Regions from separate parts of the Homo sapiens genome. Here all the other regions are linked to region 5. Evidence: promoter capture Hi-C in 16 types of primary human blood cells and fetal thymus (Javierre and others, 2016). All regions are on one chromosome and are shown on one strand. Each heading gives the region's core, a stretch centred on a gene start or on the middle of the fragment in contact. The rest is flanking DNA. Distances are from core to core; before and after follow the strand shown.

Region 1 (4,795 bases), core at 1,562-4,061, 310 kb before region 5:
GTTGCTCGAGATGGGGTGATTCTCACCACCACATCCAGGTCCTCAGCAAGCGTTGCTTACACTGCCTCCAAAACATATCCCAAATCCATTGGCTTCACCTGCTCCTCCGTGGTCTGGTCTGGACTCGCTCCAGCCGCCTCACTGAGGTTATATCTGTGATTATACCTACCCTCTATAATTCATCCTCTCCACCTCCAGCCAGAGCAAGCCTTTTAAAGTGCAAAGCAGATTGCTGTACCCACCAGAAACCCTCCTGTGACTCCCCATTGCTATTGGAATAAAACCCAAACTTCTTACCACACCCTTACCATGGCTTTCTAAGGCCCTACATGATCTGGCCCCTCCCTAGTTTTCTGGTCTTCTCATTCTCTCATTGCTTACTGTCCCTGAACATCCGGGAGCCTCTGTACTTGACTGTTCTCTCTGTTCCAAATGTTCCTTCCCTGAATTTTTGCAGTGTTGGCCCTTTTCATCATTCAGGTCTCAGTTCAGATGTCGGCACCCGAAGGAGGCCATATCTGATCATGACTACCTCTCAGTTTCTGTCATATTTTACTGTTTTTAATCTGTAAGTTACGTTGAACTCTGTTTACAATTTTTTTTTGGTTTTAATCTTTTTAAAAAATTATTATTTTTACACACAGGGTTGCGCTGTTACCCAGGCTGGAGTGCAGTGGCGTGATCATACTCACTGCAGCCTTCACCTCCTGGGCTCAAGCGATGCTCCCACCTCAGCCTCCCAAGTAGCTGGGACCACAGGCACATGCCAACTGCGTCCCTTCATTCTCTGTTTTTGATGTCTGCTGATAGGAATTTCCTGAAAACCCAAGTACCAAGAAGCAATAAAGGTAGTGGTGTGAGACTGTTCCCTTCCACTTAACCTGCCCATGTCTTTTTTTTAAACCCTCTGTAGTGACAGTAGAAATGCACAAGCCCCATGCCACTGCCCAGCAAATAACCACACTGCCCTTGAAGCAGCCATGGGAGTCAGACGGGGGACAGGGCTGCTTCGTCATCTGCATAGTACTGACCATAATGGTATCGGACATGTAACAAACCCAAGTCCATGCTCATGATGGGAAAATAAGAACATTATGGACAGGTGGGGCATGAGCCTCAAGCTATGAGCTCCTCATGCCAGGCCAACCAGTGCTGCCAAAGCCCTTTCAAAGTTCTCATGGCCAGGGGCGAGAGGAACGCCAGGCTACCTTGAACTCATGCCTAGAACTGAAATGTGTTTTAACGACAATTTAATTCCTCGCAAGCTGAAATGTCACAAAGTGGAGGAGGTGGACCTGGAAGAACTCTGCAGCCTACAGCCTTGGGACAAAGGGCTTTAAATGAACTTTTCAAAGAATTCTGCTGGCCTTTTAGAACCTTCCATTGCCTAATGCTCACTAAAAGCTCACCAGATCTCCACCCCCAGGCATTATTCCTTCAGCAGCTACATTATTTCTGCTTACAACTTCAGACGACATCTCAAACCCAACGCTGACCACCCAGGAAATCAGGCTGGGGATCAGCAGGGTGGGAAGAAGTACTCAGTGAATGAATGTTCCAGATATTGGACATGAAAGAAGAGTAAGACAGTCCAGCCCTGGACAGAGAAGACTGTGACAAGAAGGATACCTAAGTGTGGGAGAGAAATACAAAGTGCAAGGGGAATACTTGCCTGGGGCAAGAGTGTCAAAAAAGCACCTCCAGGAGGTGCCATCAGCACCTTCAAGGATAGGCTATCTCATCATTTGGATCCTTCTGGTCATCCGCTGGATCCTTTGCAAAATGAGGTGCCTTTTATGCAGTAACGGTTTGCTGACTGAACTCTCTAGGGAGGATGGTGACTCCCTCCTGGGCAGCCCCCATCTATTGCCTGTTGCCTTCCAGAACTTCCAAAATGGCAAAAGCCCCAGCCAGCCCAGCCCCAGTGTCTTGCCCACACTGACAACATCGTGGGCATCTTCCCCAACTCCCCTATGTTGGCTGCCTCCTATTCCCCAAGACCTTTCCACTGATACCTCCACGCACCTCCACAGAGAGGATCTTCCCCAAGGCAAAGAAGAAGGGATGCATGTTGATGTCTGGGTCTTTGCGGAAGCAGTTGGGCTTGGCATGGTGCTGGAAGTGCATGTGGTTCCACCAACTGGCGGGGGCCCCCTACAGAAAAGCAGGGACACGAGTATGAAAAGCTTCCCCCAAGGCAGCCCTTCATTGCCTGGAGTTTTAGAGAGCTCCTCCCCATCCCACTGACCTTCAGGTGGCCAATCACAAAATGATGTAGCAGATGGTTCCACTTTGAGGTGCTGAAGACCGACAGGTGCCCAAAGTCATGCTGCAGCCAGCCAGCCTGGGCCTAGGTGAGAAGAGTCAACACTGAGAGCAGCCCACCAGCCCCAGTGTCGCCTTCACTGACCTCGATGCCTCCTTCAGCCTCTCCCACTTCCTTCATCTGCCAAGGCCTGTGATGCACCTCAGGAGTCAGGAAACATGGGTCCTAGTTCTGCCTCTGCCACTGACTCACACGTGAGTTGGGGCAAATCACCATCCCTTCTCTGTTCTTCTGTTTCGCCAGCTCCGAAGCTCATGACTTTTTTTTTTTGAGACAGTTTTGTTCTTGTTGCCCAGGCTGGAGTGCAATGGTGCGGTTTCAGATCACTGCAACCTCCGCCTCCTGGGTTCAAGTAATTCTCCTGCCTCAGCCTCCCAAGTAGCTGGGATTACAGGTGCCCGCCACCAAGCCTGGCTGATTTTTTTGTATTTTTAGTAAGAGTCGAGGTTTCACCATGTTAGCCAGGCTGGTCTCGAACTCCTGACCTCAGGTGATCTGCCCACCTTGGCCTCCCAAACTGCTGGGATAACAGGCGTGAGCCACCATACCTGGCCTGTTTTGAGAGTGTCGCTCTGTTGCCCAGGCTGGAGTGCAATGGTGCCAACTCGGCTCACTGCAACCTTCGCTTCCCAGGTTCAAGCAATTCTCCTGCCTCAGCCTCCCATGTAGCTGGGATTACAGGCACCCACCACCACTCCCAGCTAACTGTTGTATTTTAATAGAGACGGGGTTTCACCATGTTGGCCAGGTGGTCTTGAACTCCTCACCTCAAATGATCTGCCCATCTTGGCCTCCCAAGGTACTGGTATTACAGGCGTGAGCCACTGTGCCTGGCCTTTTTGTATTTTTAGTAGAGGTTTCACCACGTTGGCCAGGCTGGTCTTGAACTGAGATCAAGTGATCCGGCCACCTTGGCCTCCCAAAGTGCTAGGATTACAGACATGAGTCACCACACCTGGCCTGAAGCTCATGACTTATGATGGACTGACATCTAGAATACAGAAAGGACTGAAACATGAGCAGAAGGCTTGCCAAATGGGTCCTGACAGTCAAGAATTAGCGCTCAATCATTATTAACATATTGGGCAATGTCAGTGGTGGGGAGGGAGCCAAGCTTTGCTAAGAAACCAGAAACTTGGCTCCTGGCACAGGTGGGCTGTGGCAGAGAACAAACCGCATAGGAAGAAGAGAACCCTTGGAGAAGCAGCTAAAAAGGCAGTGAGAGAAATGAAGATGTCCATGTGGCTAAAGAGCAGACAGGTCAAGACAGCAGAATGCATGTTCCTGCACTCACTCCTGCATACCTTCAGATCTGCCCTGCTTGGAGGGCAGGCACTCTTGGCCTTCCTCAAACACCCAAGGAGCTTTCCCCAGGGATGCTGAGCATTGCTGTGCACTTGACAAGCCAAAGGCTCTCACCTGAACTGCACTGAGCAGCACCGCACAGAGGAGGAAGGGCAAAAAGGACGTCCCAAAGACCCAAAGGGTGAGCCAGGCTGCACCATCCAGCAGCAAGATGTGCAGCAGGTACAGCAGGAAGAAGACATGGTTGGCCTTCATGAGCCCCATCCGCTCCACTGTGGCCCGCAGCTCCCGGAACTCATCTGTCAGCTCTTTCTGCAGAAGAGGAAGAGGAGCTGTTATTCTTCTCATCTGCACCCCAATGCTACTGGAGACAAGGGCCCTCTCAGGCTCAAGGACCTCCCACTGAGGTAGCTGTGGGAAGTCCACAGTCCTAGGCAAAGATACCACGACAATGAGGATGACAGGAGGAGGTGCCATGGGATAGTGCCTAAGAGTTCAGGGGACTAAGTCCTTGCTCTGCCATTTACTAACTGTGTGATCCTTGGCTGTGTTGCTTAACCTCCCTGAGCCTGTTATCTCATCTGTAAATGTGTAAGAGTTATGAGTTTATGCTTGGTGCATAGTAAGTGCTCATATGATAACAATGATGATAACAATGATGGCAGCCATGGTAGTGGCAGCCTTGGGGGAGCCATAGGTTGCAAAGCCATGCTCCCTTGGGCCTGTGACCTCATGACTATGCAAGAGAAGCAGGGACCTCAAGACTCCCCAGAGCTACTACTGACTGTGATTACTATGACTGTGATCCCATCTAGACTCTCCTTCCACCCCCTCTCTGTCCCCCTCAACAACCAATAGTTGCGACATAGCAAACACAGGGTCTTACATTCTTGGTGGGCTCAAAGCTGGGCTGCTCTGGAGACAGTTCTCCAATCAGGAGAGAGTTCATATACTTCTTCACAAGGCCCTTGTTGATGTGGAAGGCCACAAAGGGATCCTGCAAGTGCCGGGAGAAGATGAAAGGTGAGGGAGCCAGCCCCCTGGACTCCGGCAGTGTTCGCACCAAAGGCCATCCTCCTGCCCGCCAGAAGGCTGTACCCAAGTTGAAGTGAGAGGTGAAGCCAGATGGACTTCCTGGGTCGAGTGCAGACTTGGAGAACTTTT
Region 2 (4,798 bases), core at 2,084-4,583, 370 kb before region 5:
TTAGCCAGGTCAGCTGCTACAGGGTTAACAGGAGGCTCCATTCCACCCCTTCCAACTTCAAGGCTACCCTAGAGATTGAATAATCTATACTCTTAATTGATTATAATGCAATGGAGTTGGGGCGTTAGGGACAAAGTACGAGTCTTCCCTTCTACCTCCAGCCCTTGCTGACCAGGACAGGGACAATGTGTAGCTCAACGGATGGTGGTGAGAACTTAGATGATGGTCAGTTATGCAGTATGTGGGATACGGAGGAAAGATCCGTGGGTATGTGGAGGCTTGTAGAGAAGCTGGTTCTGTGGCTGGTCCCAGGCGACTCGTAATGTAAATCCGTTTCTCAGAATCGCGTGGTGTAGGCGGGTGTCTACTTTGTCCGCAGGCAGGCCTGACCCCGGGTGGAGGAGGGGCAGGGTGGAGAATAACAATTGTCTTAAGGGAGTCTGCGGAGGGAGAAAAACCTCTGGGGTGTATCAGCTGGAAAAGAATAGGAGTCTCAGTGTGGCCCCTCTCCCCCCTCTCAGCCCAGCCCCTGCGGGGGCGGTGAGGGAGCTGCGGTCAGCACACACAGCTGGGGCCTCCAGCAAAATCCCATTCTATATATCTAAGAGCAACAGCTCTGAGAGCGGCCCCCAGAGGGACAAAACCTCATTGTGAGGCACCCGCCGGCCTCAGCACCCCCTCCCCCAACCCCAGAACTGTCGTGGCATTGACCCTTTTCGGCGGGCCACCATGGGCCTGCTGACTGGGCCACATCTGGGGCTCAGGCATTGGCTGCCCCTCCCCCACGGCTGGCCACTGAGAACTGACAGGGAGGCTGGGGTGGGAGCGGCTTCCAGGCCTCTCACCCCATCCCCACGGGGTGGCCTGGCTTGTGCCCCACCCTCCCTGGGGATGCTGCAAGGCAGAGGTGAGAGTCCGAAGCTGGCTACGTTGGCATCTTGATCTGCCAGCAGTCCCCCACACCTCTGGCCTCTGTTTAGTGGCTTGTCAAACAGTGGTTGGGTGGGGTAGGTTTTTCCAGCTTTTACGTGCTGCCTTGAAGGGTCCCGAGAGGCTTCAAGTTGAGCCACTCTGAAGCGGGATGATTCTCTAGGTCTGGGATTCCAGAATTATCCGCTCCCAAGGTTTCAGAGGTCCAGGATTCTGTAGATTTTTGTTTGTTTGTTTGTTTGTGTTTGGAGACAGGGTTTTGCTCTGTCGCCCAGGCTGGAGTGCAGTGGTGCAAACATGGCTCACTGCAGCCTCACTGCAGCCTCAACCTCCTGGGCTCAAGCGATTCTCCTTCCTCAGCCTCCCCAGTAGCTGGGATCACAGGCATGTGCCACCGTGCCTAGTTAATTTTTTAATTTTTTGTAGAGACAGGGTCTTGCCATGTTGCCCAGGCTGGTCTCGAACTCCTGGCCTCAAGCAATCCTCCTGCCTCAACCTCCCAAAGTGCTGGGATTACAGGTGTGAGCCACTGGAGCCTGACTGGATTCGGTAGTTTGAAGATGCCACCATACATTCATTCAACACATTTATTGAGCACCTACTGTGTGCCAGGTCATGTTCTTGGTGTTGAAGCTATAGCAGTGACCGATACAGAAAAATATCTTGCCCTCGTAGGGCTTCCATTCTAGAGCAAGAAGGATAATAACAGAAACTAAATAGGAATCTTTTACATGGTGAGCAAGAAAGGCCTAGGTAGGGAGAACTGCTTTAGGTAGGCTGGTTGGGGACATGACATTTGAGCTGAGACCAACTGCTACAAAGAAGTAGCCATGTGGAGACAAGCATTGTAAACAGATGGAATAGCATGTGCCAAGGCCCTGTGGCAGGTGTAGGCCTTGCATGTTTGAGCAATGGCAAGGAGGTCTTGGTGGCTGTTATTCAGTGAGCAATGGAGAGAGGGGAAGAGCTGAGGCCAGTGGTAGAGGCGGGGCCTGAGAAACCAGAGCAAGACATTCAGATATTGTTTTGAGTGCAAAGGGAAACTTAGTTTTGCAAAGGAATGACATGATCGGATGTATGTTTCAGAAAGGGTGATTTGGGAGAACTGAAGGGGATATCAGTGAGACGAGAGGCTGTGCAAGTTGGGCAGGACAGAGATGTGGAGGCAGTCAGTCATAAGGGTGAAGGCAGGGGCACAAGGACAACCGCTTTATCCTGGACTTATATCGAGTTAGAACCTCCAGGTTTCATTATACCAGACAGGGCCACGGCAAAGGAGAGTTCGGATTCCCGGGGCAGCCAGGATTTGGCTCTGAACTTTAATGACCTTGAAACTCTTAGGCAGGGCGGGGAGCGGTGGCTCATGCCTGTAATCCCAGCAGTTTGGGAGGCCAACGTGGGCTGATCACCTAAGGTCAGGAGTTCGAGACCAGCCTGGCCAACATGAGGAAACCCCGTCTCTACTAAAAATACAAGTTAGCCCAGCGTGGTGGCGCCTGTAATCCCAGTTACTGGGGAGGCTGAGGCAGGAGAATCGCTTGAACCGAGGAGGCAGATGTTGCAGTGAGCTGAGATCGCGCCATTGCACTCCAGCCTGGGCGACAGAGCCGAACTCCATCTCAAAAAAAAAAGGAGCTTTTAGACCTGCATTGTCCAATACCACAGCCACACGTAACTGTTTAATTACAATTAAACAAAATGAAAAAATCAGTTCCTCAGTCTCAATAGGCACATTTCCAGTGCTCACTTGTGGCCAGTGACTACCATACTGAACAACACAGGGAACATTTCCATCATCACAGCCACAGGACAGGGCTTCCTGGCAGTCCTTAATGCATTGAGCCTCAGTTTCCCCATCTGTAAAATGCAGGTAACAACAGCATCTCCTTGATAAGGTGCCTGTGAGGAGTACATGAGATAATGCCTGTGTGGCCTGGCACATAACACACGTTCCCTAAATGCAGGTTGTTATTGTTGCTGAGCGGGGTGTGTGGGTGGCTAACGAGAGGGATGGGGGCTGTCTCTGAGGTTTGGATTCGGAATCGTGACATCTTGTCCCGTGCAAGACGAAGGCGAGGACGGCGAGGGCACACCCTTCCAGTCCCGACCCCACAGAGGCCAAGCGGCCCTTCGCCCCCACCCCGACCCGGGAAGGCCCCGCGCCCCTCAAGCCTGGGACGGTCTCGCGTCCCCCGACCCGGGACGGCCCCGCGCCCCGCAAGCCTAGGACTGCCCAGCGCTGAGCGCCGCCTGCAGGAGTCGGGAGCGTGGTGCCCGCGGCCGGGCTGGGCGCGGCGCGGGCCGGCAGGGGGCGCTGGGCGCGGCGGGCGGGGCGCGTGGGGCGGGCAGGGGCCGGGCCAGGGACGCGCGGGGGGCAAGCGCGGCGGCGGACCGGGCGGGACCGTAGCCGGAGCCCAGCCGGGACTGTCGCGCGGGCCGCGCCGGCGATGCCGCGCCCCCGGGCCGGGCTGTAGCGGGGCCGCGGCTGGAGTGTGCGCCGGGCAGGCGGGACATGGAGGTGGTGGACGAGACGGAGGCGCTGCAGCGCTTCTTCGAAGGTGAGAGACCGCGGGCTGGCGGCGGCGACCCTCTGGCGCTGGGAACCCCCGGCTGATCTCCCCGGGAACTGGGGCTCCTCGCTGTGTTTCCGCCTCCTCTGGCTGGGACCCTCCTTCAGGCTGGCACCAGCCCGCCAAGACAGGCTCCCGGGGCTGGGAGTCCCCCAGCGGTTACCACCCACCGCCGCTGAAGTTGGGCTCCCCCTCCCCGCTCCTCAACTCGCAGCTTCCTTGGGACTGTGTCCCCTTCCAGGTCCGGACTCCTTTGAGCCTTCCAGGACCCGGAACTTTCCCTAAATTGTGACACTCTCGCCCCCAGCAAACTTCCCGAGTCTGGGGACCCTCTACTTTGCTTCCCCAGAACCCCAAGCGGGATACAACCCCATTCAAGGCCCAGACCCCCGGTGTGCCTTCTAGGACCTTCCGTACCTCTTGAGGCTGGACCCCAGCCTGCTTCCCAGAATCTGTGACCCCCGCCTAGAGACCAAGACCCCCTGTGTGCCCTTCTGGTTGGCGCCATCCCCCATGACTTCTAGGAGCTGGGACCTCCCCACTGTGCTTCCATGAGGGTAGGACCACTTTCGAGCCTGGATCCCCTTGGAGACTGCCACCTGCTTTCCACAATGCTGCCTAGTGACTGCTCTCCTGTTTGGGGCTGGGACCCCCCTCCCTAGCATGCTCTCCTGGGGCTGGAACCTTCTTGAAGCTGACATCCCTGCCACCGGTCACCTCTGCTCTCTGAGACCCTTCTAGTGCTGTGAACTGCATCCCACCAGCCCTCTGAGGCTCCTCAGCACTATGTCCCCCCAACCCTGGAGCTGTGCCTCTCTGACCTCGCCCCCTCAAAGAGTGACCTCACCCCCACTTGACCGAAAGGAGCCCTCTGGGGTGGAATTGACATACACCCCATAATATCTTCTTCTGCCCCCACCCCTACATTGGTTTTGGAGGTCTGCTCCTCCATCTAACCAACTCCCTGTCTTTTCCTGGACGACCCCTGCCCCTCCTGCAGGGCCACCACTCCTCCTGGTGCTGGGTTCTGGAGGGATGGGACCGCAGTGGGAGGGGGAGGGGAAGTTCTGGCTGACTGCCTCCCAGCCCACTCCGCTTCTCAGAACCTCCCTGGAACATCTAGCCAGACCCTCTGGCCCCCTTTTGTGCCCCTGTCTACCAATGCAGCGAGCCCAGCCCCTGCCCCGAGCTCCCTCTAGTCCCTAAGGCCACATCCTGCTCCTTGGTGCATTGAGAACCTTCCCTTCATGTGTGAACCTATCAGGGCTACAGGGCAGGGAACCAAGGCCCAAGTTTCA
Region 3 (5,116 bases), core at 2,150-4,649, 350 kb before region 5:
CATCAAGGCTGAGCCCAAGGCTCCCTATGCCCCAGGGTGAGTAAGGGCAGGGAGTAGGGGGATACAGCGGCATAGGGGCAGGCAGGGAGCAGGGCTGTGGCCGTGACCTGGGAGGTGCTAGACACTGGCCTGGCATGGGATGGGCTGGGTGACTGGCTGTGCGTGGGCAGGTGAGGGAAGGGAGGATGAGTCCAGGTCAAGGGGGGACTCCTGGGCTTTGTTCTGAGGCAGTGGGCAGCCACAAAGCTTCTAAGCATGGGAGTGATGAGGGCTGACGTAAGTGCTAGAAAAATCTCGATGCTGTGTGGAGAGTGGACAGGAAGCGGCGGGACTGGAGGCTGTGACTGTTTACCTTCATGGGAACACCTGCATACCCGTGCACGCGCGCCAAGCCCACCCACTTACGCATCCAGCTGACGTGTACTGTGGCCACAGGAGCTGGCCCATGGCTCAGATGTGGCACCTCAGTTCCCCCCTACCCAAGCAAGCCTCATGGGGCCCAGAACCCAGGCCCTTCCCCCCATCTTTCTGAGGAGTCCACACCAAGGGCCTGACCCAGGGCTGAACCTTAGGCCTGGCTTTGACCAAAGGTTCCAGGCAGCCACCCGGCCAGCCAGACTCCAGGGCAGCTCCCGGGGCACATGCTCACAGCGGGAGGCTGGGAGCATGGGTCTGCAGGGGAGCTCAGGGCAAATGTAGGGGCCCCTGTCTCTGGGTGGAAGAGCATTAAAACACTAGGTGCATGAACTCTGTGTTCAGACAGCCTGGCTCCAACTTCAGCTTCCCCATTTATCAGCCGTCTGCCTCGGTAACCCATGGCCTCAGTTTCTTCTGTGAAGTGAGCCCTCAAATGCTTACCCCTCAAGATTATCGTGGGAAGCAACAAGGGCACAGAGGATGCCCTGGGTGCATGGTGGCCATGGACACATGGCCGGCCGTGCTTCCTGAGCTCCCTGGCTTTTGGGGAGAAGGGAGTGGAGGCCAGGCTTGGGGTGCCAGGGGTGAACCTTTGCTGCAGAAGGCAAACTGTTTGCTTGAGGCTGTGAGGCTGTTCCTAAACTACAGGCCCCTGGGGGCAGAGGGAGGAGAACTAACATTTGGTAAGCGCCTGCTGGTGCCCACTGCTGTATCATGTGCCTATGATTGCGTGAGCTCATCAGCCTTCCTGGGTATCCAGCTCCTGGGAGACCCCACAAGGAGCCCTGGCCACTGCTACCGTCAGGATTTTAATGGCACACTGAGGCTCAGAGAGGGAAAGGGGCTTGTCCAGAGCCACACAGGGACTCTGTGGGCAGGGCCACTCCAGGAAGGGACCCAGGGCCAGACCTGAGTCTAGGTGATAAACAAGACAGACATGAGGCTGGGTGTGGTGGCACACACCTGTAATCCCAGCACTTTGGAAGGCCAAGGTAGGCATATTGCTTGAGCCCAGGAGTTCAAGACCAGTCTGCAACATGATGAAACCCCATCTCTACAAAAAATACAAAAATTAGCTGGGTGTGGTGGCGTGTGCCTATAGTCCCAGCTACTCGAGAGGCTGAGGTGAGAGAATAGTTTGAGCCAGGGAGGTCGAGGCTACAGTGAGCTGTGATCATGCCACTGCTAGGGACAGAGTAAGACCCTGTCTCAAAAAAAAAAAAAAAAAAAAAAGGCCAGGTGCGGTGGCTCATGCCTGTAATCCCAGCACTTTGGCAGGCTGAAGTGGGCAGATCACTTGAGGCCTGGAGTTTGAGACCGGCCTGGGCAATATGGTGAAACCCTGTCTGTACTAAAAATACAAAAATTAGTTGGGTGTGGTGGCGCATGCCTGTAATCCCAGCTACTTGGGAGGCTGAGGCACAAGAATCGTTTGAACCTGGGAGGTGGAGGTTACAGTGAGTGGTGATTGTGCCACTGGACTCCAGCCTGGGTGACAGAGCGAGACTCTGTCTCAAAAAAAAAAAAAAAAGAAAGAAAAGAAAAAAAACAGACACACGGCTCTGCAGTGGCTCCTGAAGCCTAACTGGGGAGAGGTATTCACCAGTACATCTCCAAGTAGAGGAATAATCAGGTGCCAGAGGAACTTAAGAGGAGAGAACACAAGGTGCTGTGGACTTGGGGCATGGGACTGCAGGGACTGCAGGGTGTGAAAGACCTTAACACATTACAGAAGGCCTGGCCATTGTCAGGGAAGTACAGGACGGAGTGGCAGCCCAGGGGGCCTGAGGCTGTGGCGAGGAGTATGGGTTTGAGTCCCCATACACGTTTTTGTATCATTCACACAAAACCTGCAGGGTCTGTGTTCTTGAATCGTTGTATAGGTTTCTACATGAGGCCCCGAAGGTGGGTGGGTGGCTGGCACAGGGATGCAGGGGGACTCTGGAGCCAGCCCCAGGGCTGTGTCCACAACAGGGCCATGGCCTCTCTGGCAGTTCCCTGGGCATGGGAATGGGGAGTTGCTCCAGATGTGGGGACCAGGGATGGCCAAAGAGCTGGATCCCATATGGCCACAGCCTTCCACTTGCTGGGTGAGCACAGGGTTCACGCAGGACGTGTTGACCTCTTGGGTTGAGTTTGTTCTTTTTCCTGAACACTGATAAAAGTGAAACCTGCAAGAAAAAAATAAACCCAGGCCCGGTGGTGCTGGCTCCCTTCCCAGTCCACACCTGCCTCTGGTGGGGCAGCCCCCCATGACCTGCTGAATGCCCTGAGGCCCAGCCCCCTAGGGCCCTGTGTTTCCAGGAAGCTGTGGGGCTTCAGTGGGTGCAGGAAGAGAGAAGAAGTCCTGGCCTTCGGTCTGGGGCGGGAGTCTTTGAGTCCCTGTGCCATCATCAAGGACACTAGTAACTGCCCCCCAAGTGCCCTGTAGGTCTGAGGGGATCCTGGGCGGTCCCCTACCCACAATTCGGCCCCAGGCCCTGCCAGGCACCCCAATGTGGGTGGTGCGGAGAAATGCCCCTAAGGGTGGATGTGACGAAACCTCAGTGTCGCCAGCTTCTGGGGGGCTGTGGGACCCTACCACGCAGAGAAGCTGCCCAGCTGGAAGGCAGAAGCTCAGCTGCTCACCCCCCGGCCCCTTCCCCTGGCTCTCGCAGCACACTGCCGGACTCTCCCCCAGACTCGGGCTCCGAGGCCTACTCCCCCCAGCAGGTGAATGGTGAGTCCAGCGGGCACCGCCCTCCTGCTCCAGGGTTTGGGCAAGTAGTTGGGGCGGCCTTATCAGGGAGGTAGGGGAGGAGGGAGGGGGCCAGCGGCTGCCCAACGGGCTGAGATTATCGCTGGTCAAATACTCCCTGGCGCTTGGCTATTGTTTCCCCACGGGCGGGTGGGGAGCCTGGCCCTGCCTCTGAGCAAGTATCCCCGCGGTGATGCCACCCGCCTGCCCGCCTGCGCCATCATGGACGCACCCTTCGGCGGTAAGTGGGTGGCTGGGGAAGGCCGTGGGTGCAGCCTGGGTGCAGGCTTCCCAGGCCGGGCCCACCTCACCTTAGAGGGTGCTCAGGGGTGCCCTGGCCCCCAGGTGGCCAAGAGCAGAACCACCGCGGGAGCAGGCTCCCCGCAGTCCGGATTGGGGTCAAGAGTTCTGTTTATCTTACCAAAAACATCCCTGGAATGCCTCCTGGGGAACAAAGGGAGCTGGGGCCTCCCCGCTCAGGCTGGGGGGCTGGCCCCTGAGAGCCCAGAAGAGGGACTGCCTGCCGGAGAGGGGAACACTGGGCAGGCCTGGGCTGGGGGTCTCCGGAGACGCCTTCCTGAGGCCCAGAGGAGGAGCAGGCCTCAGAGGAGATGGGGACGGAGGGGGACCTTTAGATTTGGGTTGGATTCTCCTGGTCCAGCCTGGGGGCAGGAGGTGGCTAGGATGAGGTGAAAGGCTGCCCCTCCTTGGGCAGGTTTGTGCCTCCCTGCCCAGGCCTCTAGTAGGTGGCTGACCAACGGCCCTCCCACCTAGGGTAGGTGGGGGGCAGCCCCCGGGCTTGGCTCAGGACGGGGTGGAAGCAGGAGACTCTGCCTTGGGGAGGACAGTGCCCAGGAGCCTGAGTGAGGTTGGTCTCAGATGCCCGCTCCCCCATCTCTCCTGCAGAGCCCCACCTCCTGCGCACGATAACCCCTGAGACACTGTGCCACGTGGGAGTGCCCTCCCGCCTGGAGCATCCGCCCCCACCTCCAGCCCACTTGCCAGGCCCCCCGCCACCCCCACCACCCCCACCTCACTACCCTGTCCTGCAGCGGGATCTGTACATGAAGGCCGAGCCCCCGATCCCCCACTACGCTGCCATGGGGCAGGGGCTGGTGCCCACTGATCTTCACCACACCCAGCAGTCCCAGATGCTGCACCAGCTCCTGCAGCAGCACGGAGCTGAGTAAGACGTGGGTGGCTGGCTCCATGGGGTGGGAAGGTGGGGTACAGGGACCAGGGTGGGCAGGGCGGCGGGCAGGCCAGAGAGGGAGGTAGGGACCGGGATGCACCCAGGGAGGGCAGAAGGCTCTGCAGGGCAGATGGGGGTAACATATTTATACATGTTTACCCAGCAATACCTTGAGGGGTTTACAGCCATGGCTAATTGCTCACAACTACCTTATCTGGTGGGCACAGGTAGGTAAACTGAGGCTCTGATGGGGGAAATGTCCCGTCCAGATCATGAGCCAGGGGCAGAGCCAGGACTGGGCCCGGGGCTGTGCTCTTACCCAGACCCCAGTGATTTTGCAGCTGTCTCATGGAACCCTCAGGTTTCTGAGGAGTCTTCTTCCTAGACCCAAGCCCCCGACTCTGACTCAACCTGCACGATTGTCTTTTCATCTGTTTTACATGTGGAGATTCCATGAAAGGTTTAGTTCAAAGGAAGGTTCTGCTGTCAAAACATTTTGTAAACCAGAAGGGGAAGGAGTGCCGTGCGGAAGCTCCCCTTCCCTGGTTTTTGTGGCCCAGGCCCTCTGTGGCTTGTTTCTGATCACAGGGCCTGCTCTCCATAGAGCCCCCACTATAAAGGGTGACCTTGAGTGTGACACTGCAGGCAGGGACAAACTCATTCATTCCTCAAGCGATTGCTGTGATTCTGTAAGCCAGCCCTGTTGCTGGGCATGATGGAGACACCAAGTCAGGTGTGGCTCCTGTCCACAGTCTGGGGGAAGCGAAGAG
Region 4 (4,625 bases), core at 2,022-4,521, 280 kb before region 5:
TGCCAGATGACAATCTAGGGGAAAGACAGGACAGAAACACCGAAAAATGTCATTTGATGACAAGAGTGGCTTTGGGGTGTGTGGTCCGGGGCACCTCTTTGAGAAAGAATGACCATTCCCTGGTCATCTGTTCATTGTCTGCAGGTCAGACGCCCCCCTGGGTGCTGGGCTTCCAGGACAGCCATGTGTGAAAATAGCAACCCCTGAGGTCTCATGGGCTGTTGTTTTGTTCAACAATGAAGTCTCCATGTAAATGGCGGAGCCGTTTATAGAAGAAAGTTGGGACAGGAGGCAGGGGCAGGGCAGGACGGGGAGGAGAGTTGTTACAAGGAGAGGAGTGGTACCCACAGGCTGTGACCAGGGTGGTCATGGAAGTCCCACCCTGGCCTCAGCAAGCTCTTCCTCCTCTTGTTGCCAGCCTGGGCCAGACCCCTCTGTTTAGCAGAGCCAGGGCAGGACCAGGGTCTCTCCCGGCCTGGACTCTTGGCCAGTCCCCCACCACCCCCATTGCCTCTGGCTTTCCTGATGAGCTGCGGGCCACCCTGCAGGTCCTTCAAAGGCCAATGCCCCTCCTCTCACCTTGCCCTCCATGGCACATGAGATCACCTGCCCTGTACCCATGCCAGCCCATGCTTGTCCCCTCCTGCCTCCTTCGCAAGTGGGTCCATCTCCCACTCTCACCTCCAGCACCTCCTGGCCTGCGGCTTCCCCAGCTCTGCTCGTCCTGCCCTGTAGCTCCCTTGTCCATGGCCTTGCTCCTTGGCTCTCTCCACTGCTCTCCCTTTCTGCTGCAGATCCTGCACCATTTAGCATCCAAGCTCCCACCAGGCACCACCAGAACCACCCTTCATAGCACCTTGGTCATGCCCTGTGGGTACCGCTCCTCTCCTTGTATCCACTCTCCTCCCCGTCCGGCCCTGCCCCTGCCTCTTGTCCCAAGTTCCTTCTTCCTCGCAATGCCATTGTGTTCCCAGGGCCCTCCTTGACTCCGCTTTGCCTCCCTGGCTCCATGTGCCCGGGACTCACAGCCCCCTCCTGCCTGCCTCAGCTCGCCCTCCTGCGCTAGTTTGTGTCGCCCCCAACTCAACCCCTCAAGACCCAACAGTGTGCGCAGAGCAAGTGGTGCTCTGTTTGGTGGTGGAAAATGCAAGTTTTATTTTTCTTTTCTTTTCTTTCTTTCTTTTTTTTTTTGAGATGGAGTTTTGCTCTTGTTACCCAGGCTGGAGTGCAGTGACACCATCTCGGCTCACTGCAACCTCCGCCTCCAGGTTCAAGCAGTTCTCCTGCCTCAGCCTCCCATGTAGCTGGGATTACAGGTGCCCATCATCATGCCTGGCTAATTTTTGTATTTTTAGTAGAGATGGAGTTTCACTATGTTGGCCAGGCTGGTCTCGAACTCCTGACCTCAGGTGATCTGCCTGCCTCGGCCACCCAAAGTGCTGGGATTAAAGTTTTCTTTTTTAAAAAAGTGTGGTCAACCATTTTGGTCATTTGACGTGTACAGTTCAGTGGCATCAAATAAGCACATTTACATTGTTATGTAACCATCACCACCATCCAGTTCTCATCTTCCCCAAATTGAAATTCCACATCCATTAAGCACTCACTCCTCATTCTCCCACCTCTCAGCCCCTGGCAGGCACCATTCTACTTTCTGTCTCTGAATTTGGCCTCTCCAAGGACCTCCTGTATATGGAATCATACAATATTTGTCCTTTGGTGACTGGCCTGTTTCCCTTAGCATGATGTCTTCAAAGTTCACTCACATTGTAGCATGTGTCAGAATTTCCTCCCTTTTCAAGGCTGAGTAATATTCCATTGCATGGATAGACCACGTGTTGCTGATCCATTCATCCATCACGAGATCTTTGTGTTGTTTCTACCTTTTTCCTGATGTGAATAGAGCTATGAACACAGGGTGTATAAAATGCAAGCTTTTGAGTCAAAGCCTTTCTCTGTCACTCTTACCTAGCTGTGACAAATATACAGGCCCCAGGGCTGTGTGGGGCATGTGGTAACAGCAGCTATTGTAGGGACTCCTGGAGGGTCGAGGCTTGTGGCTTGGCCCCCTCTTGCCACAGCTTCTCTGGGTTGTGCATTGGCTGTTGAAATGGCAGCTCGAGACATATGTTCCCTCCAGAGTGGCTGGTGGCTGACTCCTTTCCCTGTGCTCTTGGTCAACAGTCAAAGATCACTGAGGACTTCCGGGCCCTGAGGAAGACGGCTGAGGACATGAACCTGTTCAAGACCAACCACGTGTTCTTCCTCCTCCTCCTGGCCCACATCATCGCCCTGGAGAGCATTGCATGGTTCACTGTCTTTTACTTTGGCAATGGCTGGATTCCTACCCTCATCACGGCCTTTGTCCTTGCTACCTCTCAGGTGAGGCGTGACACCCTCACTTCCCCTAGCTGACAGAGGCCTGGTGCCTGTTTGCTGAGGCTGTGACAGCACGTGTGACCCTCTCTCCCCAGGCCCAAGCTGGATGGCTGCAACATGATTATGGCCACCTGTCTGTCTACAGAAAACCCAAGTGGAACCACCTTGTCCACAAATTCGTCATTGGCCACTTAAAGGTAAGTGTCAGCAGCCCTGGGCATCTGTCCTGTTGGACAGCAGTTGAGACAGAGGGACCAGGATTCCTCTCTGCTCAGTGCTCTGAGGCTACAGGGTGACAAGGCAGGTGTGCCTATGCTGAGGGCCATGGTGACTCTCCATTCTGCTGACTTCCTGAGCCCTGTCTCTGGATCAGGTCCGAACCACAAAGCCATGGTGTACTACTCATTATGAAGACAGGCACACACCTTTCTTGTCTTTTGGCTCAGCGGATTGTATTTTTTGATGTTCCTTAGCTAAGGACTCATCTAACAAATCTGTTTTTGTTTGGGGACAGTAAAGTAGCAGTATTTTTTTTTTTTTTTGAGACAGAGTCCTGCTCTTGTCACCCAAGCTGGAAGCAATGGTGTGATCTTGGGTCACTGCAACCTCCACCTCCGGGTTCAAGCAATTCTCCTGCCTCAGCCTCCCGAGTAGCTGGGATTACAGGCACTCGCCACCATGCCTGACTAATTTTTGTATTTTTAGTAGAGATGGGGTTTTGCTATGTTGGTCAGGCCGGTATCAAACTTCTGACCTTGTGATCTACCTGCCTTGGCCTCCCAAAGTGCTGGGATTACAGGTGTGAGCCACCGCATCCGGCCTGTAGCATCTTTTTTGATGAGTTGGTATGCTTCCTTTCACTGGGGATGTGAGCTCTTTAATACGTTGTGCTGGGTGTGGTGGCATGCACCTGTAATCCCAGCCACCTGGGAGGCTGAGGCAGGAGAATTGCTTGAGCCCAGGAGTTCGAGACCAGCCTGGGCAACATAGTGAGACCCCCCCCCATCTCTCAAAAAAAAAAAAGAAAAAGAAACACATTGTGCTCCTCTCTTCCCCTCAGAAGCCAAGAGGTACAAAGCAGCATTTGAAACAGCAACTATCTTTAGTCTGTGTTTTTGGTGCCCCCATTCTCTCCTTCCTCATCTGGCATTTATGCTTTTATCTTTATTTTAGCCTTCCGTTATATATGAGTCTTTTATCTCAAGCCACTTCAAATACTCTTTGGAAATAAGCGGGGTACAAAAAGTAAAAGTCATCCTATAAGGCCTCAGATAGGGGACACCAAACTACGGAATGATCAGCTGGCCCAAAGGACAAAAGTCATTAGAAGTGCAGGAGTTAAGGAAGTTCCACTCTCACCTCCCCCTAGATAAGGAAGCAGACCACAGAGTCTCAGCATGTTTGTAGAAAGACAAGCTGGAATTGCCAACTGCCTTGTTCTGATCTGACAGGCGTTATCTCCTCAGTTTTGAAAATGAGTCTTTGCCAACTTGCTCTCTGAAATAGACTATCCCCATCCCAGCCTGACCCAACAGTACCTGCTTCCTGAGAAAAGCTGGGTCCTAAAGAATCCATCCCTCCACACCCTGGCAAGGGACGAGCTACATGTGGGGTGTAGCTTATCCCCTCTTCCACCCAGACCGCAACGGGGCCCTTGGCTTGCCGGCTGCAGATCTCACTGGTGGCCAACCACCCCTGAGCTGGTCACCAGTTTCGCAGCGAGCAGCTTGCCTGGCCCTGAGCCTGAAGCGGCCTGAGAACCTGGTCTCTGTCCAGAATCTCAGGGGCAAAGGGAGAGGGTGCACATAGTGGAGTGCTTTGTTTCATTTTATACTCTTCTCTGTTGGATCAAACCCTCCTCAGTATGGCAAAGTAACATTTAACTCCTGACCCATGTTAGCCCCCACACACTTAACAAAGATGGGCTGTGTCCTGCTTCCAGATTCTGGGCAGGGGCCGGGCAGGGGGGATTGTTCCTGTCCAATTGCCCTCAGTCTTTGAGGGGCCCCAGAGCACGGCTGTTGCGTCAGGCGGGAGACGGGGCCAGGACAGAGGACTGGTCTCCATGTAGAACGTGGATGACAGCAAACAGGGTCCTTGGGCTTGGGGATGTGGGCTCCACTCATGGCCCACCAGCCCCCACTGGCTGTGTCCTTGGTGCTGTGTCACAGAGACAGGCCAAGGACATGGACATGTGGCTCACTCAGGGGTGCCCCAGAGCACGGAGGTCAAGCTTGCCTGAAATT
Region 5 (4,936 bases), core at 1,444-3,943:
ATGGAGTTTCACTCTTGTTGCCCAGGCTGGAGTAAACTAGTTTTCCTTTCCCTCAGCCCCCCTCCTTTTTTTCTTTTCTTTTTTATTTTTTTGAGACGGAGTTTCACTCTTGTTGCCCAGGCTGGAGTAAAATGGCACGATATCGGCTCACCGCAACCTCCACCTTTCAGGTTCAAGCGATTCTCCTGCCTCAGCCTCCCAAGTAGCTGGGATCACAGGCATATGCCACCATGCCCGGTTAATTTTGTATTTTTAGTAGAGACAGGGTTTCTCTATGTTGGTCAGGCTGGTCTTGAACTCCTGACCTCAGGTGATCCACCCACCTTGGCCTCCCAAAGTACTGGGATTACAGGCGTGAGCCACCACGCCCGGCCCCCTCAGCCCCTTTTATAGTTGCTCTTCTCTCTCTTGAGAAAGACGGACCTTAATCCCCTTGGAAACTTGCTAAAGTGCACTGCACAGGGTAGAAAACTCTCCGAGGTAACAATCAAATAAACAATTTGAGATACTCATGTCAGAATTAATAAACAGAATGATTAACGATTGGGTAACATATCCTTTTATGATTCAGCTGATTTCCAATTATTTACATTCTTCAAAGAATAACTCAGAAATGTTTAGTTAATTTGCTCACAAATTATTTACTCACATATGATGGAGTCAGTTGGTAAACTGAGTAAAATAACAAAGGCAAAAACAGAATTGATAAAGAGAGGGAAGAAAGGGAGAGGAAAAATACTACAGACGACCTGGGAACAGGGTAAACTATCTGTTGGTAGCTGACCGTGGATGTACAAATCTCTTCAAGATTGAACTGCCTTATTTTACAGGTAACAGCAACCTTGACTCACAGAGTAAAGTGACTTTGTCTAAAGCAGTTTCTCAACAGCAGCAATTCTGGTATCTGGGGCCGGGTAATTCCTTGCTGTGGGGACTGTCTTATGCACTAGATGGCGTTCAGCAGCATCCCTGGCCTTTACCCACCAAATACCACTAACCCCTTCTCCCAAACCCAAATGAATTCACACACTGCCAAATGTGGGGGGCGGAGGTGGGATAAAACCTCCTCTGCATGAGAACCACTTCTCTCAAGAAACGTCCAGTACCAGGGTAGGTGACCAAGGATTCTGTCGCCCAAGAGATGACAGAAGGCTCTAGATAAACGCACACTCCGTTGCCATTCACAAGGCGTTTTGTTTTTACTTCTCAAAAGCGGCAGAGATTTTTTTTTTGAGACGGAGTTTTTTGCTTTTTGTGGCCCAGGCTGGAGTGCAATGGCGCGATCTCGGCCCACTGCAACCTCTGCCTCCCGGGTTCAAGCGATTCTCCTGTCTCAGCCTCCCGAGTCGCTGGGATTACAGGTGCAAGCCACCACGCCCGGCTAATTTTTTTTTGTATTTTAGTAGAGACAGGGTTCCACTGTGTTGCCCAGGCTGGTCTCGAACTCCTGAGCTCAGGCAATCCACCCGCCTCGGCCTCCCAAAGTGCTAGGATTGCAGGCGTGAGCCACCGCGCCCGGCCAGAGATTCTTTTTTTTTTTTTTTTTTTTTTTTGAGACGGAGTCTCGCTCTGTCGCCCAGGCTGGAGTGCAGTGGCGGGATCTCGCCGGCCAGAGATTCTTTATAGGACATATTAGTCCTTGTCTTTCCCCCCCCGCCTCCATATTGGAAAGATGAACTAATTGAAATATGACTTAGTAAAAACATTGTGCCAACTTGAAACCTTGATTTAGTAAAACATCTCAATGTTTAGATCCTTTGTCCAATGGTAGTATTTATCAGATGTATTCAGCTTGCTCAGAAAACCAAAAGGGCATTACAACCACAAAAGCAAAGAAAAATAAGAAAACGTCCCATGTTTGGATCTTGTTCTACTTGTAAAGATTAAATTGAAATGATTAGGCTTTTCGATTCATGAGCCAAATACCGTAACACCCTGGCCTTTGATGGGTTTGGATTTTTAACATTACTCCTGAGATTTCAGGAAGTGGGGTTACAGTTACACTCCTTATAGCTGCTAAGTGTATTAAGTTGAATGTAAGGATGCATAATATTGTTTGAATTGAGCCCCACTACCAATTCTTTAAAAAATGGCATGAATTCCTATACGTAAATGATTTGGTGGAACTATTCCATCATAATTTCTAAATTGTTTATATACCAAGGTAGCCTTAATTTGTATATGTTTCAGTACAATGAAATTTTACTCCCTCTGGGATGCTGTTTGGTTTGTATTTTGAGGAATGTTTTTCTCATGGGAAGAGGAACCTATGACTTCTGTACCTAGATAATTTGTTACATTAAAAAGCTGGTCTTTCAGCAATGTAAGTATATACATACATGTTTTTATGAGGAAAAAAAAGCAGCAGAGATCAGAAGACTGCCACCGTGCTTGGAGAAGAAAGAAAGCCGCGCGTGGCCTTCGCAGTGCTCGCCGGGACTCGTAGTTCCAGGTCTGCGGGCTCCTCCCAGGCGGGGATCTACTTCCTCTCTCGGCCGCGGCCGCAGCACCCGGAAGCTGAGGGGGCTTAAAGTCTTTCGCTTCCTTTCCCCGCCTCTTAGTCCCGCAGATTGCTAGTGGATATGGCCAATAGGAGGGCTGACTGGTACTTCCTGTTATTTGATTGGCTTAAAATTTTGCAACCGCCCGGACAAACTTGCCGAGGATTGGCTGAGCCTTCAGTTTTGAAAATCATAGTTTTCGCCCGCGCTGCGCCGCCTGGTTGCTCCTCCCGTGCGGTGAGTCCCGAAGGCCCGGAGCCAAGTGGGTCTGGGCAAGCGGGGCCTTACCTAGGGATACCACCGGACTTGGATCGGAGCAGCCTTCAGGGGACGTGGCGCAGTCGAGTGAGTGCGCGTGGGCGTGGGGATTGGGGGGTGGTTCGCGATTTTTTCCCCGGTCCTCTGCTCCGTCCCTGTCGACTCCGGACCAGGGTCGTGACTCCCCACCCCAGCCCCTGGCTACCTGGGCATATGAGGGTCACCTCTTCCAAGTGGCGAGGTCGCCTGCCTTGGTTCTCGGGCCCGAGATGCCTCCCACCCTTTCCACCTAGGCCCTCAGCTTCCTAGAGCATAGCCCCGTTCCCTCCGCTCCCGGCTGCTTGGCACCTTGTGCCTGTGAGGATTAGTGTTGACTTGGACGCGCAGGAAGCCCGAAACCAACCCGGTTGTTTGGCGGAATGATGCCAGATGGCATTTCTGTGCAGTTAAACCCCTCTCTCAACGCCCCCGCCCCCAGCTGAGCAGCATTTTAAACTGACCATTTCCGGAGGCTGGGCCGCCCCTTGTCACTCCCCAAGCCTGTTCGCTGTCAGCGGTTCAGTCTCATTCAGCTAACATGGGTTGCTCGCGGGGTTGCCCAGAGCCAAGACTGGGCACCTGCCTTTCAGAAGTTGATATCTAGAAGGCGGTATAGCCAGTGGTTAAGGGCACGGTTTAAAGGCGGTATAGCCCGTGGTTAAGGGCACGGTTCTATTTATGCCCCTGATTTACCGGCTGATTTTGACTTCTCTTTGCCTCAATTTCCTCATCTGCCCATGCGTATCCTCAAGGTTGTGGTGAGAATTAAATGAGATGATGTCTGACTCGGGCATGGAGTATGACTCAGTAAATGGGAGCAGCTGCTATGCGCTTTCTGCACAGAGGTGTGGTAGGCGCCCAACTTACAGCACCCTGAAAAGGACAGGAGTCATAGAGGAGGACGATGGGGCCTTCAGTCTGGTGTATGGTGTGGAAGAAGTGTTGGAGAGGAGGAAGACTGGAGAGTGTCTTCCTCGGTGAGGTGTTGAGTGCTCTTTATCTGTGTGCAGGTGCTTACATGGGTTGAAGAAGAGATTTTTGCTGCTCTTCCAGGAGCCTGATTCTTGGTACACTGATTCCTTCTTTTTCAGGGTCACCTCTGTTTTAACTTACGGTAACCCTTTTTAAATCGTTGCGCTAAGGTCTGCTAGAAGCAAACCTCCCCGTGAAAGAAGTCCAATTGCTTTCATGGACTTTGTGAAAGAAGCTCTCATCCACGTTGCCCATTTGAACAAATACTTTTTAAAAAGTTAGCCAGTTGTTGCTTTTCTCTGCAAACCTTTGGCTTCCTTAAACAGTTTTCTCTTTTCTGGCCTGAGGTCCTGCGCTTTGCCAGGGCTGTGGTCTGGGTGCAGAAGGGTTAGGGGAAGGTGAGGGATGACAGTGAAAAGGGCTTGCCCATGATTGGCTGGCTGCAGAGCCGAGGTTTCAGCCCAAAGCCTGTACGATCCTGCCCATTTGGCCCTGCCCTGATTATTGCTGCCCTTGGCATCTGGGAACAGGGGTTTTGAACATGTGTTGGTCAGTTCTAACCTGTGCAGATTAAGTTTATTTGGTGCCCTTTGTGTGGTGGGATGAGCACCTATAGGATGTTTATTTCTAGGTGTAGAGTTGATGGGTGGATTAATTCATTTAACAAATAGTCCTTGTTGCCAGGCACTGCTGTGCTCTGGGCATTCAACGATGAGCAAGACAGACAGGGGTTTGCCCTCAGAGAGCAATTGTTTAGTGGGCAGGGACAGGCAGTAAGCAACAGGTAAACAAGCACGCAAGTGCTCTGCAGAGAATTACAATCAATGAATGGGATCATGGCTGGGGCTACTTTAGATTGGTTTTCAGGTTTTCCTGAGGATCTGAGATCCAAGCCATGAGGAGTGAGCCATACAAAATGTGAGACAATGTTCCAGACGCAGGGCAGAGCTTGTTGAGGAACAAAGACTACTGTGTCCTTGAATCAAGCCTGAGGAAGTCCCATGAGACTGAAACCTGACCTGGTGCTACGCCCTGTGAGGGATCAAGGGGTCAGCAATTTATCCCTTCCTTACAAGACCTTCCATTGTAGGTGGGAGGCTGAGTTGTGCATGGTTTTTTTTTTTTTGAGATAGAGTCTCCCTCTGTTGCCTGGGCTGGAGTGCAGT
Region 6 (4,466 bases), core at 1,811-4,310, 390 kb before region 5:
GGGCTCGGCTCCCACGCAGCTCCCCAGTGACCACGCACTCTCTTGGACCCTGGAGGTCACCTTTACCTCTGGCTCCCCCTGCCTTCCTGAGCTTGTCCTTCGGCCAGGCTTTCCGTGACTACTACTCTAGGGACTTTCTGGGTCGTGCATGGCTGCCTCTGGGGCTGGCCCTCAAAGGACTTCTAACCACAGGCTTAGTGGACGTGGTGAGCTCCCGAGTCGGTCTTCTGCGTGGCCGCTCCGCCCACCCCACATCCCCACCAGCACACCAACCCCAGTTAGGGTTTCTCAGTGTCTCATACAAAATACCTTTCGCCTGCTGTGGGCCAGGAATGTCCTCAGGGGCTTGATGTTTTGGGTAGAAGGGGAGCATCTGGAAATATGGGGAAACCTCAGATTTTGGAAAAGTGGCTGAATCTTGGAAGAACTAGAAGCTGCATGCTCGTTTGGGCTTCTCGGCCTTTGGGAAGCAGGCGGACGCCAGGGCCTGGGCCCCCTTTCCCAGCCATGCAGCCGGGCCTGGGCCAGTGATTGTCCTTCTTCACCTGCCGGTCTTACAGGCAAACAATGACATCTTGGCCTTCCTGTCTGGGATGCCGGTGACCAGAAACACCAAGTACCTCGACCTCAAGAATTCAGTGAGTCAGACATCAACTCTCACCCCACCCCGTCCCCATCCCTCCCACTCTGCCACAATGACCTAAGCAAACTCCTCCCAGCTGCCCTTGCAGTGCCAGCCACATTGCCCCTGCCCGGTCTCCCCCCGGCTCTCCAGAGAGCCTCTCTGCTCAGATCATGCCCCTCACGAGAACCACCCACTTCACACCGGTTCGACAGACAAATCCCCTGAATTCCTTTACCAAGTTCAGAAGTGTCTGGTCCTGGCCTCTTGAGATGACAGAGCACTTTACCAGGGTGAGCTGCTAGCATTTTTGCTGCTGCTGCTGCTGTTAATGAAACGCAATGGGCGTAGTACTTGGTTTCCAAGCTTTTTTAGTAGTGGAACCTTTTCTCAATCGCCTTTCGTAGAAATCCAGTGTGTAATAGGGAAAGGTGGTGCCAGTAACATGGTGGGAGAACCCCAGCCCAGGGCCCAGCACACAGCCCAGGGCCCAGTACAGCCCAGGGCCCAGTACAGCCCAGGCTGAAACCACAGCTGGCAGCCGGGAGAAACAGGCCCTGCCTCAGGAAGCAAATGGCTGGAGCGTGCATCTGCTCTGATGCCTGTCGCTGCGACCTCCAGCAGGCCCCTCATCCCCTCTGAGCTGGATCCTGAATCTGTGAAATGACACTAGGCACACCTTCTACCAGAGCTGTGCTGAGAGGACACGAGCCATTCCCATCACAGTGCCAGGAAGCCTCGGTGCCAGCCAGGATGCTGATGGAAAGGATTCCGTCTCTTAGAAATCTCAGTCCTTTAGGCCACGTGTGCTGCCTTGTGCCTGCAATCCCAGCACTTTGGGAGGCCGAGGTGGGAGGATTGCTTGAGGCCAGGAGTTTGAGACCAGCCTGGGCAACATAGTGAGACCCTGTCTCTACAAAAAAAAAAAAAATTAGCCAAGCATGGTGGCACATGCCTGTGACCCCAGCTACTTGGGAGGCTGAGGTAGGAGGATTGCTTGAGCCCAGGAGATCAGGGCTGCAGTGAGCTATGATTGCCACTGCACTCCAGCTGCACTGTCCCTTAAAAAGAAGAAAAAAAAAAAACCAACACTCAGTCCTCTAGAAAAGCCTCAGTCCTCCCTGCCTGTCCCTACTCCCCACTAAAGCAGGCATTTGTATCCTCTCTAAAAATAGCCACATCCATAGTAAGTGCCCCAAACCAGCCCATTTCTGCTTGCCAGGCTCTGCCCTGGCTGTTCTCACCACCTTCTCCCTCCCACTCCTCACAGGGAGCGGGGAGGGCAGGCAGCTGTGACTCCCATCAAGTGACTCCCATCGAGGTGCCAGGGTCACACCTGCCACCTGGCAGAGGCTGCCAGGGCCCACCCCGCCCCCAGGGCTGCAGGGAGCTTCTGACAGGGAGAGGATAATTACCTCTCCACTCTCGTTCCTGAAGAGCAGCTGAGCTGGCCAGGGATGTTTCCACCCCTCCGGGCCCTGATCAAGGTGCCACCTATTTCACTTCACAAGGTGACTAACCACCCTCCTTAACTTTTACAAGGTGACTAATTCCCTCTCCCGGTGCCTGGGGCACTCGGGAAAGACTGGAAGCTGGCAGACACTTTGCTGGGGCACCCCTGCCTCTTCCTCCCTCCACCCCAGCAGCCAATAACCTCCTCAGCATCAACAGTGGCTGCTGGGCCTCAGACACACTGGCTTTCAAACTGGTGCCTTTCTCCCAAGAGATCCCAGTCTCCCACCAACGCAGCCCCTGCCCGGAGCCCTGGGAGCCTGCAGCTGGCTGAGTCAAGTTGAAGGCTCCCAATATTTGCAGTCAAAGAACCCAAGGGCCAGAGATTTGGTGATTGGTCTCCTGGCCTAGCGTGGCTGCCCTGTTGCCCAAGGCCCACACACGCCGCCCAGCTGGAGGGCTGGGGCCTCTCAGGGCTACATTTTCCCAGCATCAAGGGCCCTTCTCAGGGCTGATTGCCGAGGTGGGGGGATTACTACTCACATCCCTCAACTCTTCCCTTCTCTGGAAAACAGGCAAGGAAATGGACCAAGTGATTTTCTGTCCCCAAATCATTAATTCTGAGACTGGAGCAACAGGACAGGTCTCTGAGGATTCGTGTCCTGGTTGCATGGAGATAATTAGGGAAATGCAATTATCACCTGGAGGAGTGTCCTTCCTCCAAGGCCTGGGCCCCACACCTCAACAGGGGACCAGCAACCCCTCCCTGCCAGGGGTTGGGTCCGCAGGCTCCCACCCTGGGGAACTGCTGGGCCCTGAGGCTGTAGGCAGGAAGGGCAGGAGGTGACCGCCCTCTGCCTCCTCTCTTCTAGCAAGAGATGCTCCGCTACAAAGAGGTCTGCTACTACATGCTCTTTGCCCTGGCTGCCTACGGGTGGCCCATGTACCTGATGCGGAAGCCCGCCTGCGGCCTCTGCCAACTGGCTCGGTCCTGCTCGTGAGTACCCCTGTCCCATCCCCCAGCGATTGCACCTCTCCTCCCGGGTGGTGTGTGAGGAAGGGCTACCGGGCTGCGCCTACTGCTTTGCCCTGAATGGCTTCTTTTCTACACCTTCTCTGGGCCTCAACCTTTCTAGTTCTGTGTTATCCCTGAGCAGTGAAGTTGTAGGCTTCGGAGTCACACAGTTATGGGTTCGAATCCAGATGTTGTCACTTGCAGCCTGGGGCAAGTGGGTCCACCTCTCTGAGCCTCAGTTTCTTTATCTGCGAAGTGGAGATGTTGATACATACCTCGTGGAATTTTTTGGAGAGGGCTAGATGAGATATTGCATAACACCCACACTGCTGCCTCCCCTCCCCTTCTGGCGTTCTCTCTCTGCCCCCTCAGCCATTCCCTTCTGCCCACATCTTCCCTTCTCTCGGCTCCCCTCATGTGCTCTGCCTTTCTAGAAGAAAGGACTTTCCTAGTAGAGAGGCCCAATCCATAGAGGTCTTTGAAAAGGCACCAAGAAGGCCTGTTAGTTAAGGCTCCAACCTTCTTCATAGGATCTAGGAAAGGCCTTAGCCCCAGACCTGGCCTGCAGCCTAGCTCTGCGCTCAGCCCACCGCTTGGGGGCTGGGTGGACTCTGCATTCCTAAGTGGGCCAGAGAAGGGCGCCTGCTCCAGGAGGAACCCCTCCCTGTCCTGGGTGTCTCCGCCCTCAGCTCATGCCAGGCAGAAGGAGGACAGTTCCCTGGGCTCCCGTTCTGGAAAGGCTGGCATGCTGGGCAGCAGCTTCTTTCCTTGACACCCCTGCCCTTGGGACCCACAGCAGCCACACCCACTCTGCAGCGCCCTCCCTGTCCTCAGAAAGCTGGGTGGCTCTCGGGGCCTTATTCTCACCATCCCTCCAGCGACTGATCAGAGAGGACTAGAGCACCTCATGCCCCCTTCCCATCTTTGTCAGCTGCATGTGCCTGGCATTCTTGCCTGCATCCCTGGGAGTCCCAGCTGTGGCAGAGAACTCTTCAAAATGAGCACCAGGCTCCATTACTCACTGGTGGTGTGGGGACAGCTCTTAGAGCCTTTGTTTCCTAAACTGTAACAGGTGGTATCTGTCCTGCCTGCCCATAGGGTGTTTCAGAACCCAGGGTATCACTGGCAGGCAGGGCTCTCTGGTGCTCTGCAGACAGGAGGGGTGCTGGCATTTGTATTAGGTGCCTTAGTGTTGCAGAGAGAGCAGAGTCCCTAGACCTCATGAGGGCCCAGCCAGGCCCCTGCCTGGAAGAACCAGGTGCCTGTGGGGCAGAGAGAGGCAGGCCTGCAGCCCAGGGTGTTGGGAGGAGGCCAGAGTCCAGTGCCCCAGCCTGTCCATAACAGCCTGGCCAGAGGGAGAAGGGCTGCCCATCTGCC

The links. The method cuts DNA at HindIII sites, captures the fragments that hold promoters and counts their contacts. A CHiCAGO score of 5 or more calls a contact.
Region 1: a contact is called between a fragment that was not itself captured here and the fragment with the promoter of INCENP in region 5, in 13 of 17 cell types (neutrophils, total B cells, naive CD4 T cells and 10 more). The highest score is 14.2, in neutrophils.
Region 2: the fragment with the promoter of MYRF here is called in contact with the fragment with the promoter of INCENP in region 5 in 1 of 17 cell types (neutrophils); the score reaches 7.5 in neutrophils.
Region 3: a fragment that was not itself captured here is called in contact with the fragment with the promoter of INCENP in region 5 in 4 of 17 cell types (neutrophils, monocytes, erythroblasts and 1 more); the score reaches 9.1 in neutrophils.
Region 4: a fragment that was not itself captured here is called in contact with the fragment with the promoter of INCENP in region 5 in 1 of 17 cell types (M0 macrophages); the score reaches 5.8 in M0 macrophages.
Region 6: a fragment that was not itself captured here is called in contact with the fragment with the promoter of INCENP in region 5 in 1 of 17 cell types (neutrophils); the score reaches 5.0 in neutrophils.

Annotation. Positions count from the first base shown.
Region 1 is chr11:61,808,726-61,813,520 of GRCh38, forward strand. It overlaps FADS1 (fatty acid desaturase 1), which reads right to left. Exons shown (of 12, transcript NM_013402.7): 2 at 4,518-4,628; 3 at 3,746-3,943; 4 at 2,249-2,350; 5 at 2,026-2,154. Among named protein-coding and RNA genes, the nearest start is that of MIR1908, 4.1 kb to the right of the region's middle. The HindIII fragment of the contact is 1,254 bases long and covers 2,185-3,438 here.
Region 2 is chr11:61,749,303-61,754,100 of GRCh38, forward strand. MYRF (myelin regulatory factor) reads left to right here and starts at 3,334. Exons shown (of 27, transcript NM_001127392.3): 1 at 3,334-3,488. The coding sequence starts at 3,443. MYRF-AS1 (MYRF antisense RNA 1) reads right to left here. Exons shown (of 4, transcript NR_026882.1): 4 at 4,727-4,798. RefSeq lists an enhancer at 1-446 and silencers at 3,124-3,263, 3,384-3,483. The HindIII fragment of the contact is 15,547 bases long and covers 1-4,798 here.
Region 3 is chr11:61,766,186-61,771,301 of GRCh38, forward strand. It overlaps MYRF (myelin regulatory factor), which reads left to right. Exons shown (of 27, transcript NM_001127392.3): 3 at 1-36; 4 at 3,075-3,136; 5 at 4,061-4,340. Among named protein-coding and RNA genes, the nearest start is that of MYRF-AS1, 11 kb to the left of the region's middle. RefSeq lists enhancers at 1,917-2,493, 2,494-3,069. The HindIII fragment of the contact is 6,310 bases long and covers 245-5,116 here.
Region 4 is chr11:61,838,150-61,842,774 of GRCh38, forward strand. It overlaps FADS2 (fatty acid desaturase 2), which reads left to right. Exons shown (of 12, transcript NM_004265.4): 3 at 2,185-2,382; 4 at 2,475-2,576. Among named protein-coding and RNA genes, the nearest start is that of FADS2, 12 kb to the left of the region's middle. RefSeq lists an enhancer at 584-1,141 and a cis regulatory region at 3,635-3,919. The HindIII fragment of the contact is 2,678 bases long and covers 1,933-4,610 here.
Region 5 is chr11:62,121,318-62,126,253 of GRCh38, forward strand. INCENP (inner centromere protein) reads left to right here and starts at 2,694. Exons shown (of 19, transcript NM_001040694.2): 1 at 2,694-2,846. LOC124902681 (a long non-coding RNA gene) reads right to left here and starts at 2,394. Exons shown (of 2, transcript XR_007062697.1): 1 at 2,340-2,394. RefSeq lists enhancers at 2,305-2,394, 2,925-2,994, 2,984-3,565. The HindIII fragment of the contact is 13,511 bases long and covers 1-4,936 here.
Region 6 is chr11:61,728,371-61,732,836 of GRCh38, forward strand. It overlaps DAGLA (diacylglycerol lipase alpha), which reads left to right. Exons shown (of 20, transcript NM_006133.3): 8 at 561-638; 9 at 2,947-3,071. Among named protein-coding and RNA genes, the nearest start is that of MYRF, 22 kb to the right of the region's middle. The HindIII fragment of the contact is 4,149 bases long and covers 987-4,466 here.